Linked DNA regions of Homo sapiens: regions 2, 3, 4 and 5 are each linked to region 1. Evidence: promoter capture Hi-C in 16 types of primary human blood cells and fetal thymus (Javierre and others, 2016). All regions are on one chromosome and are shown on one strand. The core of a region is centred on a gene start or on the middle of the fragment in contact, and the rest is flanking DNA. Distances in the headings are between cores, read along the strand shown.

Region 1 (2,713 bases), core at 107-2,606:
CTGGGCCAGCTGTGCTGCTCTGCACCCCTCAGTCTCCCCGAACAACGGTTGTTTCAAGCCTGACCTACTTGAGAGCAGACATTGCCACTCACATTGAGCTACCCCAAATTACACAGTGGCTTTGCAGTCGAGGCTAGGCACGGACCACAAAATATATCCTTGATGTCCCACGAGCCCTATTTGAACCCTCAGTTTCCAGAGGTAAAATGCAAATCCACTGTGTTGCTTACTCGATAAAATCAATAACCCCCTCCCATCCGAGATACAATTTAGCATTTTCACATTTACTACGTGCTGCCTCTGACTTTAAACAATTAAATTTTTTTCTTAAAAAAAGGGAAAAGAGACACGTCTTTCACAAGAGTAATTTCAGAATTCTCCAAAAAGCAACAGAGCTTCTGTGGATGTTTTACAATAATTCTTGATTTTAAAATATGGAGAAAATGAATTCTCAGCTTGTTAACACTCATTAGGATTTGCTGCGGAGTACCTTCTACCGCTCAGCACTCTACGTTAACATTTTTAAATATTTTATTTCTTGCAGTTCATGTTTTTCCTAGAGTTATAGGAAGTGCTATGGAAATTCATGCAGATAAAGTCATGTTATGTGTCTACATATAGGTGTATATACACTGTAAGGGAAGCCTGTATAGAATCTCTGATTGTATCAGAATTATAACTTATTTGATAGGCTACATAGACGTGAACATGTTTTGCTCATATCGATTTCAGAGAGAATATTATTTTTATATCCATATATATGATTATATTTCATAGGTAAATACAGTATGTTTCACATATGCACACATAGATTTCCCACTAACTTAAGCGCATTTGCATCTGCAATGAGGGAGACACTAATTTCTTCTAAGGGGAGCAAATCCAATCGCGCGATCAACTTTAGAAACTGCAGATCTGCGCAGGAACCGTTGTCCCTTGTCAGAAAAGTCAGGAGTAAAGGCAGTCCTTTGTTCAAAGGGCCCCAACGGGTTGGTTAGGATGACTCCGTGTGCCACATCACTCGCAGTGGCAATCCAGGGAACGGATCTGTGAAACGAAGCTCGGTGGATCCCACCCCTTTCCTCCAGAGCTTCCCTTTCCTGTCCTTATTTGCACCCGCCCCCCGCCCGCGTCGGTCTGGGGCTTTTGACTTCTCCCCGAACACATTTCCCCTCCCGTCGCTGGGTCCCTGCGATCGCCCCCAGCTGGTGGGGCTCGCGGAGCTCAGGGGAGCGGGGTCCTCTGCGCCGCTGCAGCGCGAGTTAATAAACAGTTAAGTTTGGAAGACTCTGCAGACACGTTGAGGGGGAGTTACCAAGCCCAGGCAGCAAAAACATCCTGGCACATTCCTGGGGAGTCCTCAGCTGCCAGCATCTGATTAGAACCATATCTCTCGCCGGGAGTGGCCGCGCGGCTCCGAAGCTCCCGGCCGGCGGCTATTTAAGCGAGGCCCGCCGCATCCGCTGCGCTGTAGCCTGGAGGCTCCGGGCGCGGGGAAGTCATGCTCGCTTCACGGAGGCAATAGCTAGCCGGTGAGTAGCTTCGAAACCCTTCTTCCCTCTGGCTCCATTTTTTTTTTAAAGATCTCCTTCTCTCCTTTGCTCCCCCTCTCTCACCCCCCCGCCCCCCGCTACCCTTCTTTGAGTACAGACCTTGGGCTGTGGGGAATCTTAGAAATGAGACCCTGTGCTTGGGGAAACCAGCAGTTTTGTGGCCTGACATCTGAGGAATGCTTCCGCGGAATGTATTTACCTTTCGAATCCGACTCCAGATGCCCAGCTTGTGACATTTAACAAACGCCTCCTTTTGTGTCGTGTGTGTGTGTGTGTGTGTGTGTGTGTGTGTGTGTGTGTGTGTGTGTGTGTAAAAGGTCTGCGGGCAGCCCTCCTAGGACACTGAGGTGGCTGCTGACCGCCTAATTAACTCCTCGAAGGGTGTTTATTTTTGCTGTGTGACAAAGGCTGGGGACCTGGCTTGTGCCCATAAGGAGCTTTTTCCTGGTGACTGACAACATATGGCATTAAAATGTGAACTTTTGTCTTACACCGGCATTCCTAAGGAAGTATCTACCCAAGGGACTTAAGAAACTTGTTTTATATCCCCCGGCGCAGGGAGCATGGTTTATATGGTGCTTGCCTGCCTGTTGTAAGCTGGTTAAAAAGATTAAGTAAGAATTCTAAAAAAGGGGGGAAAAATGAATGGGTTAAAACCGTGGAGCCTCAGTCAACATAGCGGTTTTCATAGCATAGAGCTGACTCTGTTATTTGTTTCTGCTGTCTTTCCCTCTTGACTTAATTCTGAGCCTGGAATTCTGGTCCGCAGACAGTTTCAGCAGGGAGCTGAGTCCAAAGGGAAATTCAACTGGATTAAAAACACTTAAGGAATCTGGGTGTTATCTCCACCCCAACCACCCCCCACCTTTTCCCCTTTCTTTTTAGTTTTTGTTTGGAAGGAAGAGAGCCGCTCTGTAAACCGAGAAGAGCAGAAACAAGCTTCCAGACACATGGAAAGACTTAAAAATTATGGAGGGGCGACTTCACGAATAGTAAATGTTGCTATTGCTCTATAAAGTGACTTCATGAAAAAATTTCTGGCCTTAGTCAGGCAAAGCAGGGGCATGGGGGAGAAGGAGGTAAGATATAACTAATGCAAACAGAAGTAATGGGAGTGGAAAGCAGGCATCTACAAAAAATGCCTTTGAGATGTCTGATAA
Region 2 (2,713 bases), core at 141-2,640, 1.5 Mb before region 1:
GTTAACACAAATATTAGGAAAAAACATTTTGGCTAGATAACTTTCAGAAGAGCATCATTTTCTTTTCTTGTTTTTTTTTTGTTTTTTTTTTTTTTGAGAGAGAGTCTCACCTTATTGCCCAGGCTGGAGTGCAGTGTCTAGTGTTGCCATCTTTATGCCCATGAGTACCCAATATTTAGCTCCCACTTAAAAATTAAGAACATGGGGTATTTGATTGTCTGTTCCTGCGTTAATTTTCTTAGGATAATGACCTCTATCTGCCTCCATGTTGCTGCAAAGGACATGATTTCATTCTTTTTTATGACTGCCCATCATAACTTTAAACAAATTAACTTTGTTATTTGTGTTTAATTTTAATTATTTAATTTCACAGAAGGCATGGCTTAATCAAGATCCATATCTTGCTCCTCCTCTAACCCCAATAATGAGCGAGCTTGGATTCGGTGCCCCAATGGACAATACAGTGACTATGGAAGCAATCTAGCCACTGACAGATCTGTGAAATTATTCCTACAGTCTTACAATGCAACATTTTTAAAGTTTAAATACCAAAATTTACAATAATAAAATTTGAATAGCAATCTCAACTTATTTTTGCATTCCAGAGATTTAGTCTATGATAGCGATTTCTATCTTTGGTCTTATCTTTTGTTGAATAGCTTTTTGGTTGTGTTTTGTTTTGTTTTTTAATATTTGGCCTTTTTGCATTGGGCCAACATGTATACTTGGTAGACCTTTAGTTTTATTCCATCTACTCATATCTTCTATTCTCACAATGCTGACTCTTTCATCCAGGATTTCAAATTCTCAAGTTCCAAGCCTGCAAATTTGCTTTTCTATTAGCTCTTAGATAAATCGCAGGACCCTACTGCATGGCTCCTAATCCAAACAAGCAAAAAAAAAAAAAAAAAATACACCAGAGGAAAGTTTTTCCCAAGAAATAACAATAGTACTATTGTATTTCTTTATGACTTTATCGGGACTTTCATAAACATTGTCTCCAATTCCTGATTCCCAGACCTCTGGACCTATAATTTCACCACAAGATAAGAAAAAGGAATTCACTTTGGCTGAACTGTTAAATATGTTTAAATAAGGATTTCTAAACATCACCCCCAGGTCTTTTTCTTCTGTATTTTCCTCTGGCCTTCTATTTATTTGATGTCTTTCAGTTAGGTATTACACCTCTTCGTTTAAATTACATTTATATTACCCCCGTTCATTTGAAAAGATAGCTTCATTTACAAAAGTAATGAATTTATTGTCTTACCTTCATGTTTGGGAAAACATTCAGGGCAGAAGAGAGGAGGAAGATTTCCTCTGTAAGGGCCGGGTAAGTTTTCAACAGCAGGAAGAGCCCAGCAGGCTGCCTGCCTCTCTGCCTCTCCCTGCTCTAGATTATCTTGGCACTCATATATAGAGCAAGTGGTCCTGAGATTTAGCTCCTACCCCAACCGGATTCTCCAACGACAGCAAGAGCCTGACCTTGTACTTAATCTGTGCCTTGAAACCAGATGCATCTTATCAATTACACAGCCTTAGCTACAGCCAGCTGGGACTGTTTGGAAGTTATAGATATGTTTCTTAGAAACATATCTATAAATCAGGAAACACAGCAAATGTTCTCAGTTCAATGTTTAAGTGATTTTCAACCAAAGGAGACTCTGTAAGGCAAGGGATGAGCCTCCTTCTTGTTTCAATCTACTAAACTAAGTGGATGTTTTCATGATTCTCTTAAAAGGTGTTATATGCCAGACTTTGAGATTAAATATTTTATGAAAGAAAATATTTAAATGCAGTTCTGTCACTCAAAATCTAAATAGAATGTTCTGGAGTAGAATTTTTCCCCAAAGTACAGCCTAATACAACCCAATAGTCATCCCTTCATGCTTAACTTTCACAGAATAATCAGAAAGAATATCAATTTTTGTAAACATATTTGAGGACATCACTAATTTTCTCAAGAACTTCACTTAATCCTTTGATAATCAGATCACTGTGTTGGAAAGTTCTTCTCAGGGTCATTATCCACATCCATTTTCTCTCCTTTGCTTTTTATCTTGTCTTATTCTACCAGGTCTTTATTTTCCCATAGCTTTGCATTGATTCTAGCAAGTCCCCAACATCACCTTCATACATTTAATAAAATGCTGCTTATTTTGCAAGATTTTAGATTTCCTATTGAAACTGAGCTACAGTTGGCCAGGCGCGGTGGCTCATGCCTGTAATCCCAGCACTTTGGGAGGCCAAGGCGAGCGGACCAAGAGGTCAGGAGTTCGAGACCAGCCTGGACAATACAGTGAAACCCCGTCTCTACTAAAAACACAAAAAAATTAGCCAGGCATGGTAGCATGCACTTGTAGTCCCAGCTACTCAGGAGGCTGAGAGAGAAGAATCACTTGAACCCAGGAGGCGGAGGTTGCAGTGAGCTGAGATCGCACCACTGCACTCCAGCCTGGGAGACAGAGTGAGATTCCATCTCAAAAAAAAAAAAAAAAAAAAAATTGAGCTACAGTTTTATTTGTATTGTTGGACCAAATATTCTAACACTAGCTGCTAGTGCATTATGAGTGAGGTAGAATAAATGTTAAGCGGGAAAGAAAATTTGAGTTAAGAATAATTTTATAAGTAAACATTCCATTAGTGAAGATTTTCTAGCTTTAATGACTTTTTCTTCCTATATCCAAAGCACTGGAATAATAAAGACAACCCC
Region 3 (2,713 bases), core at 99-2,598, 1.4 Mb before region 1:
GTGGTATTTTGTTACAGCATCCCTCACAAACTGATACAAGGTGTGATGAGGAAGAAATGACTCTCTTCCTACCCATAAGTGGATTATGAGTCCCCAAGATTTGAAATTAATGTGAGATGGTAGCTACATTTTCATCCTCTACTCAGAACTTAGTGATGTCTGTTTTCCCAGGCAATATCACTCCAATGAAACACTTCTCATATTTTGAATTTTCATTAAGAAATATTCAGATTTGGCTAGGTGCAGTGGCTCACACCTGTAATCCCAGGATTTTGGGTGGCCAAGGTGGGCAGATCACTTGAGCCCAGGAGTTCGAGACCAGCCTGAGCAACATGGCAAAATCCCATCTTTACAAAATACAAAATTAGCCAGGCGTGGTGGCAGGCACCTGTAATGCTAGCTACTCAGGAGGCTGAGGTAGGAGGATCACCCGAGCCTGGGAGGTAGAGGCTGCGGTGAGTCATGATTGTGCCACTGCACTCCAGCCTGAGTGAGACCCTGTTTAAAAACAAATTTTTTTTAAATAAAGAAATATTCAGATTCAAGATACAAATATAATTCTCATCAAGATGGCATTATGTGGACTGGATCAAGCCAAGTAACAATATTTTGGGATCTTAGCCATTTACTGACTGTTTTCACTTAAATAGTCAAACCCATAATCCCCATATCTCTCTGGTCACAAAGGCACTAAAATAACTAAAGTGGTTTAACCTGAGAAATAGGTTAGCCTGAAATTAATGATTAGCAACTCCTCGTACGTATAATGGGAAATTAATGATTGGCAACTCCTTATACGAACTACAGAAATTTACAAACTGACAATCAATATTTACTTTTGCTTATGCTGTCCATCATTTCCTAGGTCCTGGGAGCTCCTTTAAGTCAACACCTACCTCGAGGAGATTCCAGGTCAGAGAGGCACGAGGAATTTCTTAGTAGTTGATTTTCTGCTGACATCTGTCCCTTTTTCATCCCCCATCCCCATTATGTCATGGCAAGCTTATTAACTTATTAAGTTGTTGCCTAACTAACTATACAAGATATTTCCATACCTTCTATACTTTTCTCCTGTTCCTCCTCCAATGAAAGGCTGGTTTCTGATCCCTCATAACTTGGTTCTTCACCAGAGAACTCTGTGGTTTCTGAATTCTCGAAGTCCTCTTCACCATCATATCCAACGTGCTCTGGGTCATCATAAACCTCCTCTTCCACAGTGGCTTCTGCATCTTCAGGGGTGTCAACAGATCCTAGATATTCCTCTTTTCCTAAGTATAAAGAATCATCTAGCTCCTCATATCTCTGTCCATCTTTTATATATGTAATAGTTGCTGGAACTTCACATCCAACTTTCTCAACTGAATATGATAATGTGACTTCTGGTGTGTCATATTCCTTCTCATTCTTCCTGGCAGACAAAGCTGTTTCCCTATAACTAGTTTTCTTGTCCCTGAAAAACTCAGAGGTTTCCAAATCCAAGTGTTCCTTCTCACTGAAGAACACTGTGATCTCAGGGGCTTCAGGCTGTTTTATTCCAGGAGAAAAAGCATCTTCTGAATTACTGCTTGCCCCCATAGATTGAGGAGGTACTGTATTCTCATGTTTTAAAACTTCTGCAAAGAAAAGAATTGTTTTTCCCAATTAAGAAAAAGAAGCTGTATAACAGCTAGAGTTCCTGAGGCCTCAAAGCTTCATCCCTCTCCTTTTATTTATTTATTTATTTTTTGAGACAGAGTTTCACTCTTGTTGCCGAGGCTGGAGTGCAATGGCACGATCTGGGCTCACTGCAACCTCAACCTCCCGGGTTCAGGTGATTCCCCTGCCTCAGTCTCCCAAGTAGCTGGGATTACAGGCATGCGCCATGATGCCCAGCTAATTTTTGTATTTTTAGTAGAGACAGTGTTTCACTATGTTGGTCAGGCTGGTCTCAAACTCCTGACCTCAGGTGATCCATCTGCCCCGGCCTCCCAAAGTGCTGGGATTACAGGTGTGAGCCACAGCGCCCAGCCACCTCTTATTTCACTGGAGGACAGGAATACCTAACACCTCCTATATAACTTGCATGTCAACATGTCAACTTTCAGAACTTTCTTTTTTCCACTAAAAAAAAAAATCAGATCACACCACTGTCTTGCTTAAAGTTTGAGTCCTTCCTAGCAACCTTACAGGGTAAGTGAATAAAACGAAAAATTTGAATCATATGAACAGTGTTTACTTGTGGACTTACTGTGACTCACAACAGACTCACGTCTCTTGGGGTCATTGCTAATGAAATCTGATCACAAATAATTTCTAATCAGTAAGCAAATGGCTCTATTTGGAATAGTGTGCTTTAGAAATAATAAAAGAAAAATTTCTAAGCATATAAATCTTGTCCTAAATTAGGTATCACTAACATTCACCTTTTTATCTGAGCCTCTACCTCTCTAACATCCCTTAAAATAATTTTGAATTTTTTTTTAGATTCCTAGAAAAAGAGCTAGACCTAGTCCTAGTAGTAATTTACAGAATTGCTAAATAACTGGAAGAATTGCTTTTTCATGGACTACTAGTTATCTTTGAACCATTTAAGAATTAGCACTGGAATTGCTCCAGAAAACAGCTGCTGCTGGCATTCTTATCACCAAAAAAATGAAACTACTGATTTGCCATCTATGTGTTAAAAATTATTTTCCTTGTATTTTCAAAACGGCTATACTAAGTGAAAGATACA
Region 4 (2,713 bases), core at 63-2,562, 1.3 Mb before region 1:
CCAAAGTGCTGGGATTACAGGCCTGAGCCACCATGCTCAACCTTGAGTGGCTTTTAAATTCAGAAGTCTTACCTTAGAGTATTCATGATTCTTTTTAACAAAAATCTGGTTTACTCTTCTACCCAACCCCCAAGAAATTTTGGTGCTTAATAGAGATGGTATAGTGAGTATAGTGGTTAAGAGTGTAGATTTTGAAGTCAGATTACCTCCATTCAAATCCCAACTTTATCATTTCTATCTGCATAAACTTTGGGTAGTTATTTTTTGTCAATTTCTACCTCATAGGTCAAATGGTGATACATATCTTATAGAATTTTGGAGGATTAAAGAGCAAAGTCCATGTAAAAGCATGCTACCTAGCACCTAATAAGCACCAAGTGAATGTACTTTAGATATAATATTTTAGGATTTTATATGTTCTTGGTATATTTCCTGTAGTAGTAATATATATTTTTGTAAATTATTTTGTTCAAGTGGCTTTTTCTAGAATTATTACAAACTAGGTTATACCTTCTCAAGAGTCACGGTGTTAGTCCCAACTTTGACATCTTGGCTTTTAAAGTTTCAGCCACTAGATGGTGATATTTGACTGTCTAGCTAACTGGTCTGATTTTTCTGTTAGAATCAGTTGTATGTGTATGAAGCAGGAATATAAATTAGAATTTACCATGCATTTTGTTCTTGTCTAGGAAAGTATACCTACTAATGTAAATTTGAGGGTGATCTTGCTGTGTGACCCACATTCTGCAGATTACTCACATCAGTATATTTAATGACAGTGGTTTTGCCTCATGCTCTGTGGAAAAACATAGATACAGTCAGTGTAGAATGACTTTATTTTCTCACCAGCACATCTTCCAACCTTACTGTATTTGTGCCTATATGATCTGTCATCATTCCATTGTAATTATCAAAGGCCCACCACTCCACTTGTACTCTAGACCCCATCCCCTTGTGCCTTCTCAGGAACGTTGTTCTGAAATTGTCCTCTCATTTTTATATAATCTGTTTCTTCTTTTCTCTCGGTCCTTCTTGCTGGCATGCAAACATACCCTGATAACATCCATTTAAAAAGCTTCTCTCCAAATGCTCTGCCATTTCTCTGCTCCCACTGCACTACAAACTCCATTTCTTGATGAACCATCCAGTCATATTTCTGTCCCCATGAATCCACTGAAACTGCTTTTGTAAAGGTTATCAGTGACCTCCATGTTGTCAAATCCAGTCATCACTTCTCTGTTGTCATTTATTGTGCTTCTCATCATTCAGCACAGGTGACCACAGTCTTCCTAAATACACTGCTCTCTCATCTTCCACACCACCATGCTATCATGCTTGTCCTTGTCTCCATGTCCTCTCCTTTTTAATCTTTGCTTGCTCCTTTCCTTTTGCTCTCCAGATCAACAATCATCTGTGTTTGTGGAGCTGTTGCCAGCTTAACATAGACCTTGTATTTATTCTTCTTTCTTCATGGCTTACTTCTGTTTTTCCCTCACTCTTGATTGCGTGGGATCCTATCCACTCAATAAAGATTTAGCCAGTAAGCTTTGGCCTCAGGCTCTGTTTTCCAGGTAACCCAAATTATCCTGGATTTCTTTCTTTTTTTCACTCATACCAAGTCCAAGTTGAGCCAACTGTACATTTTCAGTGTGTTGTAAATCTTTTTTCCTCTTTCTGTTTTCACTTCTATCCTTATCTAGGGTTATCTCATACCTAAATTACTTTGGTTGTCTCATATCTAGCCTTCCTGTGTACATTTTTGTACCCTTACTGTCTATTCTTCTGGGTCTGACTGATCTTTTAAAAATGTAAATCAATAATTCATGTCTCACTGTTGTATAAAAACTCTGTGGATTCTTCATCACACATACAATTAAATCCACATGCATAACTATGGCTTATTGTATTCTCTGTGATCATGGCTTCGGCCCACCTCCCTGACCTCTGACTTCCTTTCCTCTGGTTTTATTTCCTTTCCACAAAACATGGTTTGGTCCTGCCCCAGGTTCTTCCCTTTGCCTGGAATGGACCTTCTCCAGATTTTCAGTTGTCTGACCACGTTTTGTCACTCAGGTCTCAGCTTGAATGCGTTCCTAGGAAGACCTTTCTTGACCGCCCATTCCGAATAGCCACTTGGTCACTCCCTATCACATTCCTCCATTTGTCTTTTATCACGGCACTTATATTTTAACTGTTTGTTATCTTTCTTTCCCTGTCCCCTTCTAACATGCATACACTTTAGAAAGTAAGATCTGGAAGAATAGTAGGGACCTTTTATATCTTGTTGGGTGCTGCATCCTTAGTACTTATTACTAGAATTCTACCTGTCCCAGGGTAGGTGCCCAGTAAATATTTATAAAGTGAATAAGCTGTTAACTATATAGCTCATTAAATTTAAAGCCACAGTAAATTAGAAGTCTAATTGGGAGTAAAGTAGCTAAACACATTGACATTTCTATTTGGTAAATGAGTGTGCTATCTAACTTATTTAGCTTGATCACCAGCTGTTCTTTACCTCAGTATAGGGCATTATCTCATCCTGCCCTGTTGTAGTCCATGGAACTATTCCCTTTGCTTCCTTCCTTGTGCTACTTCAGTTGCATACTGTTAAGATTGTCCTTAAACTGGCGGAATCAGACTTTGGTCATTTATTAACCACAGTGACTTTAAACCAAGTTTTTATCTTTTAATGCTTCCTATCCAACAGCTGCAG
Region 5 (2,713 bases), core at 155-2,654, 1.1 Mb before region 1:
TAGGACCTAGAATATTTGCTCTTCTGAAAGTTTTATTAGAACATTGAGCAAACAGGTACTAGTTGAAATTCAATTTACTCAACATTATGAAGCACCTGCTGTGTGCTGTGCCGGTATATGAAGCTAGGTAAGCAGTGTCAATTTTTATAAACACCTCCCAGGCATATAGAAGTGAAGGCTGTTATAGGAGGGAGGGGCCTTAGAAACTGCATGGCTTGTTGGTGGTCACTCTGTGTGCTGTAGAACCTTTGGGTTCTGCCAAGGTGGCCATTTTGGGTACAAGGAAGAAATGGAGGAAACCAAAGGGGAGACTGAATACCAGAATACTGTTTCTATCCTGCCCTCTTCAACCAGGATGGCTCCAAACTTTTATTTATTAGCCATGCCGAGGTGTCGTTATTTTACAGAGGAAGACACTCAGGGGCAGTGTGTGTCTGGGGTCGATGACATGGTGAGCTAAGTAGTCACAAAAATTGTATACTTTCATTTGCCATACTAACGAGACACACAGTACTTTTCATGCTCCTCCTACTCTTCTTAGGAGTGAGTTTAGATTTTATTGTATTTTGGAGATCCTCAGCCATATGAGTCACATTGTCCTCAGATGTCCATGTTACAGATATAGACTAATGGCAAATATGGTGACTTTGGGACTATTAAAAAAATTGCGATCATCCAGGGTGATGTAAATTGCTTTCACCTTTATTGATTTTGTTGCCAGGTCTTAACAAACTCCTTTGGGTTTGTAATAACCCGAAGCTTTAACTTTACAGTAAAGAAATTTCATGGTTACACCCTTAGCAATGGGTTAAGAATTATCACATTCTCTCAACTCTGTGTCCTTTCATCCAACATTCTGACAAAGAGGAAAAGATTCTGGGTTAGGGAAAATCACTCTATTAATTCTAGCTATTTATACTCTAATACCGTAATTTTGTAATCTTTCTTGGACACAAGATCTTTCTTGTATTTAAAGAAAAGATAAATTTCATTTTTTTTTTTAGCATTCCAACTCATTCTGCTCTTGTCTGTTAAGATGATAGGAAGACATGGAGACTCAAGTAATTCCTAGCAAGTCAAAGACTAGAACTAGTTAGCCATTAATTATAAAAACTATTTTAGATTATTGACTGGAATGACTGAAATTTAATCTAGTTGAACTTCAGAGCCCAAAATATGGACTTTTCTGCCCTTGGACACAGGGACAGAGGCAGACTGGGACTTTAAGATTGGGAGGCCTCTGCTGATGTGGAGGAGAGAAGGGAAGCGACTAAATTCAATTAGGGACTAGTAGGAGCAAATCAAATCTGCAGCTGGAAGAGATCATCCAGCAGCTGCAGCTAGATCATCATAGTGACTGTAACCCAGACAAGAAAAACAGAACGTGGGAGGCCATCTGCTTGCAATTTCCTTATGCCAGTATTAAAACAATGTTAAGGCTTACTGACTTTTTTTTAATGAAGAGAAAAAAGTTTACCAAAGATGAATGATGAATTTTTTTTGTAAAAACAAAAAAAGTAAAAATGACTTCCATTGATAAAAATCCCAATTTCTAGATATTTAGATCATTTCTTTTTGTAAAAAAAGTTTGCTATGAAAAACAATACCGTGACAAGAATTCCTTTTCCTTATTTCTTATTGGGCACATCCCAAATTTTCTCTTAAGATAAAACCCTAGGATTTAAATTTCTAGAGTGAAGGGTGCATGTATAATTAAGGTTTTAAAATATGTAATCAACATATTTTACAAGCTGTTGCATTTTTCTATGAATTTCCTACCATTTGTTTGGAATTTACAGAAATAAAGGATACACTGTTGTTCCAGAGACTCGTGAAGTTAGATGGAACTCTCAGGGGCCAAATGGATAATTTCTACTGTGTTAGGTTTTCTGAACGTTGTCTCCTTGCCAGTTCCATAACCTCTTCTAACGTCAATACTCAGCCTCCGGTCTGCTGCTGTTTCTGCTTTGTTAATACCGGAGGCCACAGCTAAATGAACCATTGGGACGATCACATTCTCTCTTTTAAGAATTTAAACTAAGAAGCTTTAAGTCTAAGACACTTAGAGTATGATGCTAGACACACTTCCAGATATGGGAACTCTAATATCTTATAGAGTTGAGGCCAAGAAGGGTCATGTGGCAAACTATGATAAGTGGAAGTAGAAAACCCTTCTATGGGGGAAGCCATAAAGAAAGAAGCAGACACTGAAAATCAGGGACTATGTAGCCCTAGGGAAAATGTAAATGGTACAGTCCCTGTGAGTCCCATCGCTAGATTCTGTAGTGTGTCCTATGGGACCTTCTTGTGCCTTCTGAAGATCTGTGTTGATCTCCATCCAAGACTCTTGACTCCAGGTTAAATTACAAAGCTTTTACTTCAGGAATATCAGTCATTTGTATGGTAGATCTTAGGAAACACAGGGGTCCATAGGCCTTCAAAAACAGAGAACCATATTTTCTGAAATATAAATTAGGTCATATCTGACAAAAGATTACTTCCCATTTTGGTGCATTTACATGAAACATTACCACACTAGAATCATTGCCCTCAGGCCTGCTCTTAACTGCTTGGACATATGGGCTTTCATTCCCCTCGAGTTTGCTTTGATTTATCTAGTATAATGGTTCTCCAACTTTAGAGCGCATTAGAATTACCTGGGGGCTTGTTACAACAGAGTGCTGGGCCCCATCCTAAGAGTTTCTGATTCAGT

The links. The method cuts DNA at HindIII sites, captures the fragments that hold promoters and counts their contacts. A CHiCAGO score of 5 or more calls a contact.
Region 2: a contact is called between the fragment with the promoter of C7 here and the fragment with the promoter of DAB2 in region 1, in 1 of 17 cell types (total B cells). The highest score is 5.9, in total B cells.
Region 3: a contact is called between a fragment that was not itself captured here and the fragment with the promoter of DAB2 in region 1, in 1 of 17 cell types (M0 macrophages). The highest score is 5.5, in M0 macrophages.
Region 4: a fragment that was not itself captured here is called in contact with the fragment with the promoter of DAB2 in region 1 in 2 of 17 cell types (M1 macrophages and megakaryocytes); the score reaches 6.8 in M1 macrophages.
Region 5: a fragment that was not itself captured here is called in contact with the fragment with the promoter of DAB2 in region 1 in 1 of 17 cell types (M1 macrophages); the score reaches 5.8 in M1 macrophages.

What each region holds. Positions count from the first base shown.
Region 1 is chr5:39,423,623-39,426,335 of GRCh38, reverse strand. It overlaps DAB2 (DAB adaptor protein 2), which reads left to right and starts at 1,356. Exons shown (of 15, transcript NM_001343.4): 1 at 1,356-1,532. The HindIII fragment of the contact is 7,828 bases long and covers 1-2,494 here.
Region 2 is chr5:40,908,174-40,910,886 of GRCh38, reverse strand. It overlaps C7 (complement C7), which reads right to left and starts at 1,390. Exons shown (of 18, transcript NM_000587.4): 1 at 1,271-1,390. The coding sequence starts at 1,276. The HindIII fragment of the contact is 6,323 bases long and covers 1-2,713 here.
Region 3 is chr5:40,842,052-40,844,764 of GRCh38, reverse strand. It overlaps CARD6 (caspase recruitment domain family member 6), which reads right to left. Exons shown (of 3, transcript NM_032587.4): 2 at 1,056-1,613. Among named protein-coding and RNA genes, the nearest start is that of CARD6, 2.0 kb to the right of the region's middle. The HindIII fragment of the contact is 687 bases long and covers 1,005-1,691 here.
Region 4 is chr5:40,734,343-40,737,055 of GRCh38, reverse strand. All of the region lies in intron 2 of TTC33 (tetratricopeptide repeat domain 33), which reads left to right. It also overlaps a transcript of PTGER4 not described here. Among named protein-coding and RNA genes, the nearest start is that of TTC33, 20 kb to the left of the region's middle. The HindIII fragment of the contact is 470 bases long and covers 1,078-1,547 here.
Region 5 is chr5:40,571,753-40,574,465 of GRCh38, reverse strand. No RefSeq gene overlaps it. Among named protein-coding and RNA genes, the nearest start is that of PTGER4, 110 kb to the left of the region's middle. The HindIII fragment of the contact is 1,286 bases long and covers 762-2,047 here.